2 separate regions of the Homo sapiens genome follow, and region 1 is linked to region 2. Evidence: promoter capture Hi-C in human tissues and cell types (Jung and others, 2019). All regions are on one chromosome and are shown on one strand. The core of a region is centred on a gene start or on the middle of the fragment in contact, and the rest is flanking DNA. Distances in the headings are between cores, read along the strand shown. Region 1 overlaps LOC105378061 (a long non-coding RNA gene). Region 2 holds the start of SYNE1 (spectrin repeat containing nuclear envelope protein 1).

Region 1 (4,566 bases), core at 1,168-3,667, 36 kb after region 2:
GGCCACAGTGACATGTGACTCTTCTGTTCTCCATTACTGTGTTATCCTTCATATATGCCCCTCCTGGCAATTGAGGCACATGACTTTACAGGAGTGCCTTTTTGTGATGAAACTTCTCAGAGAGTGCACATTTTGGTCGTCAAAGCCAAACTTCTTACCATGAACAATATATACTAAATCTGGAGGGATTAAATATCTAATTCATCTTACTCATATTATGTGTTAAAAACAGTGGCACTTCAGTTTAGAAGAACATGCATAAGGTTAAAAACACACCAGAAGTAGATGTTCTGCAGCAGTTTTGCCTTCTTTTTTTCTCTTTAATCTTTTAGATTTATATGCTTCTCTAGCACAGGAAAAATAATTTTATAGAAAAGCTGTTTCCTCACAGTCTTGTAGTAAGAAATCATTTTCCCTTCCCTATTTGATTGTGTCATTATGTTTTCACATATCTTTCTGGTATATTTCCAGGAGGAACTGTATCTGAGATTATTTCTTCCTTTCTATTCTTGCATATTTGTGTCCTTCTTTATTATCTCTGTCTTTTCCGCTTCATACCATTTAAAATTCTCGTTATCCTCTTCCTGACTCACTGATTCCTTTGTGGTTATATATTTTCCTATCCTTGCTTGGTCATTTCCTCACTATTCTGTGATTACTATGATCACAAACATTTTTGGTGTGATACTATGAAAATGAACTGAGCTTATAAGATACGTTTTCTAGAAAATAAAGATTCACCTTTTATGCAAAAGTATGACTTGTGTCTGTGACCACCGACAGCTTTACTGTCTTCTCCTTTGTTAATTAATAAAAACAATAACAACCATAAGTTAATACCAACTATGTGTCAGGCACCATAGGAAGCACCTTTACGTATGTTATTTCTGATATTTATAAACTTCTTATGAGGCAAGCATTTTGCTACCTCATTTTGCAAATGAAGGAACAAAAGCTTAGAAACAAAAAGTAGTATGTCCAAGGTCAGTCAGCAGAGTTAAGATTAGAATCTAGACTTATGTGAGTCTGAATTTTGTGTTCTTCTCATGAGGTTACAGAGCCTTTCAATACTATAGAAGAATATTTCTACTATGTCATTGCTATTTTACAGAATACGGATAACCTCAAATACGTAATACATAATTTCATGGGTAACTTAAAAAAATCTGGTGATTATAAAACAGCACTGTCCAGTAGAGTTTTCTGTGCTGATGGAAATCTGTATCTATGATGTCCATATGGCAGCTGCTAGTTACAAGTGAATGAAAGCTTGCTAGCTACAAGCATATGAAGCATGACTAGCATTACTGAAAAACTGAATTTTAATTTAATTTAGTCTTAATTAACTTACATTTAAATGGACAAATATGGCCACCGTATAGGATAATGTGGTTATAGAATAAACAAGCTTTCTTGTGATTGTTTTATAATTATTCCAGTATTATAGCATCACCGGCCCACTTTCAGGTCTTCCGTTCCGCTCAGCCACTTTGAAACCATTGTTAGAAGGACAGAAAAAATGAATTCTTGACTGTATCCATAGTAATGAGTGTTAATGGCAATCACTTTGAAATGTCAATTTCTAAGAGCAATATTATGGCATCACAATGTATCTTTGTTCATGTCTAGCTTCTTTTCACTTAATGTGAAAAAGGTAACATTTTTGTCTTTAATTGAGACAATTAGCATCAAAGTGTAATGTAAAGGGTTTCCTTTAACACCACTACTTCACAGCTTATTTTCCTTGTTGCAGAGCATCATTTCTTTCTGTCTGTATGTTCCGTGGTTATATGGTGCAAAGAGGCTGAGGTTATACCTTCTACACCCTGGGTTATTATCTCCATGTCAAAAATTACATGTTAACATGTACAGATGCTCTTGGACTTACTCCAATAAACCTATCATAAGTTGAAAATATTGGCCGGGTGCGGTGGCTCACACCTGTAATCCCAGCACTTTGGGAGGCCGAGGCGGGCGGATCACGAGGTCAGGAGATCGAGACCATCCTGGCTAACATGGTGAAACCCCGTCTCTACTAAAAATACAAAAAAAAAATAGCCGGGCGTGGTCGTGGGCGCCTGTAGTCCCAGCTACTCGGGAGGCTGAGGCGGGAGAATGGCGTGAACCCGGGAGGCAGAGCTTGCAGTGAGCCGCGATGGCGCCACTGCACTCCAGGCTGGGTGACAGAGAGAGACTCCGTCTCAAAAAAAAAAAAAAGAAATAAAATTTAAAGTTATGTAAAAATATAGACCCACACAATACATCTCTATCTTATTGTAAAGTGTCCCTTATTTGATTCTTTTCTATTATAAAATTAGTCATTATGTTACAAAAACAATCCTCTAAAAGCTCCCTTAAATCATGAACTCCCAAGTGTTATTAAAAGATTACCATTATTTTTAAGGAAGCATATCTATTGCCTGTATGATACACCTAAAATTAGTTTGATGAGGGTTAATTCAGGTTATAATAATAAACCAGAGTTGTTTCAAGCAATAGTTTGCACTTCAGAGTGTTTAACACAATCTCAGTTAGGAGATGAAAAGTATTTGGAAATTGAGAACTTTGGATTTTTGGGGATTCATTACCCACTAATGTAAACTGTGTGTGATAAAAAAAAAAAAATCACTCCCAGTGGAATACATATCCACTGATTACACACACACTTTCAAGGATATTTCTCTACTGTGTCCTTCCCTGGAATTCCTCTCATAAGGGTGTGAACCAAGTAAGAGGAAATGAGTCTTTAATATGCTTAAAAACAACTACTTCAGCACTGGCTTGCATTTTGCTTTCAAAATTTCAATGACCAGTAAGAGACAGAGAAGAGACTGATGGAAGCAAAAGTCAGAGGAAAAAAAATTCATTATTATATTTACTATGGTACCTTTCCAAAGCTCAGACAGCATTTTTATTGATGACAAAAAAGTACATTCTGTAGACAACGCTATTGGGAACATTTTGTATCTGGACGATTTATCTGAGCCAGTTAGACATATGCTTCTACATGTCATCAATTCCCCTGGAACAAATTGGTATAATAAAGACGTATTTTTTCTTCCTATGGGAAAACGCAAACTATCTTCTTTATTGTTTACCTACATTTTTTCAAGGTAAAATTATTTTAAATTATTCAAAAGCATTAAATCATGCTACTATTCCCATGTAAAAATTAATAATATATGTTCAAATGTAACATTTACTGAAAACATTTTCTACCGTTGTTTTACTGTTTCCTTTTTCTCAGTTTCTACTAGTCATTTAATTTTCAGTGCTATTGCATAAATATAATTTCTACAAAGATACTGATTGAGACATTGAATAAACCCGTTTTGTCTCTGTTAAAGTCCACTACCATTGTTTCATTTTAAATAACTATCTTCTCATATTAATAGCCTGACATTTAAAAAATACACAAGAACTCACTATAATTAGATAATAATTACCATAAAATTAGGTCAAAATAATAGCTAGAATAGCTTAGAGATTTTCTAATACAAATTCTTTCATAAGACATTAATAATAGGACTTTGTGTATATCAGGCACTAATTACAGCTGCTGTATACTGACCTAATGATCGAAATGCTTTAAATGGGTCATTTCATTAGATCACTTCTCAGTTCTGTGTGATGAGTGTTATTGTCACCCCTATTAACAAATGAAGAAATTTAAATTCAGAGAAGCAAACATGGAGGAAAGAGTGGAAGGAATGAAAGAAGGAAATCAGTTGGCAAAGAACCAAGGATGTAAAATGCCAGTGATGTAGTCAAGACACGTGCCAGCTCCTAAAACAAGAATATAAACAGAATATAAACAGAAAAATCATAAATAGTGGTAGGCTGCTGGAAAACTTACTAATAACAGAATGCAAGTTTTAGCTAAAAACTAATTTTTGTTTATTAAACTTTAAGTTCTGGGATACATGTGCAGAATGTGCAGGTTTGTTACAGAGGTATACATGTGCCATGGTGGTTTGCTGCACCCATCAACCCGTCATCTATATTAGGTATTTCTCCTAATGGTATCCCTACACTAGCCCCCCAGTCCCCGACAGGCCCCAGTGTGTGATATTCCCCTCCCTGTGTCCATGTATTCTCATTGTTCAACTCCCACTCATGAGTGAGAACATGTGGTGTTTGGTTTTCTGTTCCTGTGTTAGTTTTCTGAGAATAGTGGTTTCCAGCTTCATCCATGTCCCTGCAAAGGACACGAACTCATCCTTTTTTATAGTTGCATAGTATTCCATGGTGTATGTGTGCCACATTCTCTTTATCCAGTCTATAATTGATGGGCATTTGGGTTGGTTCTAGTCTTTGCTATTGTGAACAGTGCTGCAATAAACATACGTGTGCATGTGTTTTTAGAGTAGAATGATTTATAATCCTTTGAGTATATACCCAGTAATGGGATTGCTGGGTCAAATTGTATTTCTGGTTCTAGAAACTTGAGGAATTGCTACACTGTCTTCCACAATGTATTCGAAGTTCTGGCCAGGGCAATCATGCAAGAGAAAGAAATAATGGGTATTCAAATAGGAAGAGAGGAAGTCAAATTGTCTCTTTTTG
Region 2 (4,820 bases), core at 885-3,384:
GTGAAAATCATTAGTTCAGAAAGATGAAAGTGAGACTATAAAATAAGAGCTAGGCAAATATTTCCAAAGCCTAGCAAATATTGTTATCTGGGTCAGTCTGAAGCTGTTTCTTAATCTTCAGCATGAAACATATTAAGTTAGTATAGATCTCTCACATTTTGTTCTAAATCTGCCACAAAGTAATGAACAGAAAAGAAAAAATAGATATGTATTTTGTCACACTGTTCCGGTGATATCAGGAACTTTTTAGCCATACTACAAATCTTTTTTCACCATGGGGAATAAAAAGCCTCTCAAAGAACAATCGTCATGACTCGTGATTAAATTCGCATTTTATGAAGATGTAGGTCATATTAATGACCTTTGCCTCATTGAAAATTATTATACTTTCTCTTGCATAGGTCTGGCTTCTGTATACGAATGTTGTCTTTAGGAAAGTCATTCTCAGATGAAGACAAAAAATGGATGGGCATTAAAGAAGAGAAAAATAATTCATTTTTAACTTTCTTAACATTCACAGGAACATTTCAGATACAAGTTTTCCACCCCAAAACGAAAAGCTCAGAAATGAACATTGTGGGATGCTAAGGCTTCATTGCTGATATTTCCCTCTGGGCTGGACCTGACTCTATTTACGGAAGGGGGCAGAACTTCCAGCATCCAAAGTCTGGGATCCCAGTCAGCACACCCAGCCTGCCTTCCCAAGGGGCTTCTTCCTGTGCGGCTGATGGCTGCTTCGTTTTGCACGGATGCCTGCCCGTTGGGATGCACCTGGCCGCCTGTGCACCACCATTTCCCAGAACTCCTCCGCCAGCAATGCAAGATCTCTCTATGTGAAACGTATCTTTATAAAGAGGAGACGAAAGTTCTCTTGCCCTCTAGTGCAGGCTCTGCCGGGAAGCAACTGCACCATGACAGCGCCGCTGGAGTCTGACGCGCCAGGGCCTCCGCGCAGCCTTCAAGCCATTTCCCTCCCCCAGCCCTTCCTAAAATAGTCAGGGGGTGGAGGAAGGGAGGCTCCTAGAATCTGTTCAACGCCCTACCTCTCCCATCTGATAGTAGCAACAGTACCGACCATCACAATAAGAGGCTGGCTGCCTTTTGCTTCTGCACCATTGGAGCCCAGGAGATGTGCCACAAGCGGAAATGACAACTCAGAGAGGGGGATATTAATAGGGACATCTACGTACGAGATGCAAAGAGGCTCCCCAACCTCCTAGTCTCCTTATCTATGAGTATCGCACACGTACACACATCACTGCCACCACCCCCTCCCATCAAGCACGCAGAGCCCCAGCGTGCAGGCACAAACTTGCTGACAATTTGTCTGCAATGTGTTCGTCTTGCACCTCTCTCTCCTCTCCCTGTCTCTGTCTCTCCCTGTCTCCCAGTCTCTGTCTTTCCTTTTACCTTCTCTCTCGGCCTCGTTCAGTTTCCCAGCAGCAAGGCGAAGCGAGCGAACGCTTCCTCCCGGCTCTCTGCGCCCAGGCTCGGCGGGACCCCGGGGATGCGCGGCTGTCCGCCCGCCCTGTCGCCGGGATCGGGCGCGGTCTGCAGGACTGCGGGAGCCCAGCCGCCCTGGTGACAGAGGACAACAATCTCAGCCCGCTGCGGCCGGCGGCCGCGGCCCGGCGCCCGCGCTCACCCTGGCTGGCTCGCCCACACTCACTCCCGCGCCGGGCTGCTCAGCCGCGCTCCCCGCCCTCCGCGACCGGTTCCTCCTCCCGGCTGCTCGCTGGGGGGTGAGGCCTCCCCCTTCGCCCTCCCCCACGCATCTACTGCTCCTGTCGGGAAGGAAGGTCGCCCAGGCCGGTTCAGCCTCTGGGCAGGGTCCCTGCACCGCCCTGGCCCGCCACACCCCCTCCCCGGCTCCGTGCCCCGCGCCCCGCGCCCGGCTCCGGGATGCGCCGGTGCCTGGAAGAGCTGGGGGCGGGGACCCGGAGGCTCGCAGGCTTCCCTACCTCCTGGAGATGCACGGCCTTGGGCGTTTCTCCGCAGCTGCAAAGCTGTGCTGTGACCCACCCGCTCAGCGAGCCTTTATACCGGGACCACCTCCCGGGGGTCGAGGTGGGAAGGAAATGTCCCTGAGAGCCGGGACGCGCTGCCTCCGCTGCCTGGAGGAGCTGCGCTGTCCTGCCAGCTAACTTTTGCCCACGGTTTCCACTGCCCGGGTGACCTTTCTGAGCGGAACCTATCCTGAAAGGCTGGGAGGTTCCCTGATGGTCCCAGGAAGGGCGTGATGCAGAGCAAAGAGCAAAACCCGCTGGCTCCTTTTTCATCAACTTCCGAAAGATCCTAAATCGTTTTGGCTGCCAAGTCAGTAGCAAATAACTTAATTTGAGGGAGACTGGTCAGGCTTTATAGATCTTTTTTAATGTTATGTATAAAGTTTAGACTTCTTGAGAAAGCGCTTGACATCTTTAATTCTTGACTGTTTATTATGATGATTCTAAAAACCACTTTTAGGTTCTTCAGGTGCACTGTATGCACCCTGTACATTGCGGAGCCATTTGTATCTTTGGCCACAAGTCCTTCTCGTGGTGTAAGAGATCTTGGTGTTGCCTGGTAGCATTCAGGAGAATTTATTTTGTTGTGGTTTTATGGTATCCAGGCAAAGTCAAACACAGTCTCTCTTCACCAACAGTGAAGTCCAAGTCCAACAGGATGATTGCAGCTAAAATAATCGAAGCCATGTTGCAATAATCTTAAAAGTAATAATCCCCCCCTTGAATCTCCAATCTGAACAAAACAGTCATTTATCCTCTAAATTTGCTGAAAGGAAGGAGCAGTTTATAAAGTAGATGAAGTTTCTCTTTGCTGCCTGCCTTTCCCTTACCTGCTGCCAACATTCCCACTGCCTAGCTTTCCATTTTCTTCAAATTCTCCTTCTTCTGGATCGTGTCAAAATAATAACATCTGAAACAAATCTGGTAAACCAATCTGATGTGTTCCTCTTCTTTGTGCTGACTTTTGTTTTTTTTTAGAGAGAGAAACCAAACAATGGATCTCTATTTGCAGAACTTGCTACCTCCAAAAGTTGGGCCTGGAGGAGGAGTGTTTGGGATCACTCTCAATGTATGCCCTGCCTCTGCCTGAGGGCAACAATCCTGGGGCACCCCCAGAGCCCCTTGTGGAGACAACCACCAGAGCATAATTATTCCAGGTCAGCCCTCTGTGCCCAGTGGCCACAAAATGGGGTCCAGATTTCCAGGCTTGCCACTCAGAAGAAACAGATCAGAATGGCTCAGCTCACCCTCTCAATCCCTACCTTCATAGAATCAATCCACCCTGCCGGCTTTTGAAGATGGGTAGAAAGTTATTGTGCCAACTTTGCCATTCTTTTTGTTTGTTTGTTTGTTTGAGATGGAGTTTCGCTCTTGTTCCCCAGGCTGGGGTGCAATGGTGCAATCTCGGCTCACTGCAACCTCCGCCTCCCAGGTTCAAGCAATTATCCTGCCTCAGCCTCCTGAGTAGCTGAGATTACAGGGATGCGTCACCACACCTGGCTAATTTTGTATTTTTAGTAGAGACAGGGTTCCTTCATGTTGGTCAGGCTGGTCTCAAACTTCCGACCTCAGGTGACCCATCCAGCTCGGCCTCCCAAAGTGCTGGGATTACAGGTGTGAGCCACTGCACCTGGCCACCAACTTGCTATTCTACACGTTAAGCAACTACTTTCTTGGGTTTACTTACTTGAGAAGTGAGCCACTTAAAACACAAGCCTGAAACATTGCTTCCACCAACTAAAACTCCTCTACTAGGCCTAATCTCTGTTCTCACAGGCTGAGACAGACAGAAGCATAGAGCTGTCTTGCTGGCATTGATTCCCTATACAGCTGAAATCCCATTCTCAGCTAAACTTTATCCTCTGTAGAAGGACTAAGCACATTTTAGAGTTTTGCAAAGGGCTTGTCAGTTTCACACACCCCAGGGAAGGGTGTTGTAGCTCCATTTACTCAACAGCTATTGCTTGAACACTTACCACATAACAAATATTGTCCTAAGTGCTGGGGCTACCGTGGTAAGCAAACTCTGACCGGGCTCTTGCCTTCATGGAGCTTACAGTATGATGGGGGAAGAGCCAGACATTCATCAGAGAACCACACAAATACTTATAAAACCCCATTCTCCAAGCAAAGGCAAATGTTGCTATGAGAGCTTTCAAGAACGGGAGTTGGCCAGGCATGGTGGCTCACACCTGTAATCCCAGCATTTTGGGAGGCCAAGGCAGACAGATCACTTGAGGACAGGAGTTCGAGACCAGCCTGGCCAACATGGTGAAACCCCATCTCTACTAAAAATACAAAAATTGGCCAGGCACGGTGGCTCATGCATGTAATCCCAGCACTTTGGAAGGCCGAGGCAGGCAGATCACAAGGTCAAGAGATCAAGACCAGCTTCACCAACATGGTGAAACCCCATCTCTACTAAAAATATAAAAAATTAGTTGGGCATGGTGGCGCATGCCTGTAGGCCCAGCTACTCAGGAGGCTGAGGCAGGAGAAACACTTGAAGCTGGGAGGCGGAGGTTGCAGTGAGCCAAGATTGCACCACTGCACTCCAGCCTGGCGACAGAGTGAGACTCTGTCAAAAAAAAAAAAAAATAGCCAGCGTGGTTGTAGGCGCCTATAATCTGAGCTACTCGGGAGGCTGAGGCAGGATAATTGCTTGAACCTGGAAAGCGAAGGTTGCAGTGAGCTGAGATCGTGCCACTGCACTCCAGCCTGGGTGACAGAGCAAGACTCAGAAAAAAAAAAAAGGAGGGGAATTAATTTATTTCAGGGATTAGAAAGGCTTTGCTAAGGGAGTGACATCTGAAC

Evidence for each region. Contacts are between HindIII fragments. The study calls those that stand out against the background at their distance.
Region 1: a fragment that was not itself captured here is called in contact with the fragment with the promoter of SYNE1 in region 2 in 1 of the 25 tissues and cell types used here (hippocampus).

Annotation. Positions count from the first base shown.
Region 1 is chr6:152,670,730-152,675,295 of GRCh38, forward strand. The region is part of intron 4 of LOC105378061 (a long non-coding RNA gene); the gene reads left to right. Among named protein-coding and RNA genes, the nearest start is that of MYCT1, 25 kb to the right of the region's middle. The HindIII fragment of the contact is 3,884 bases long and covers 476-4,359 here.
Region 2 is chr6:152,635,228-152,640,047 of GRCh38, forward strand. SYNE1 (spectrin repeat containing nuclear envelope protein 1) reads right to left here and starts at 2,135. Exons shown (of 146, transcript NM_182961.4): 1 at 1,962-2,135; 2 at 1,411-1,578. The HindIII fragment of the contact is 20,643 bases long and covers 1-4,820 here.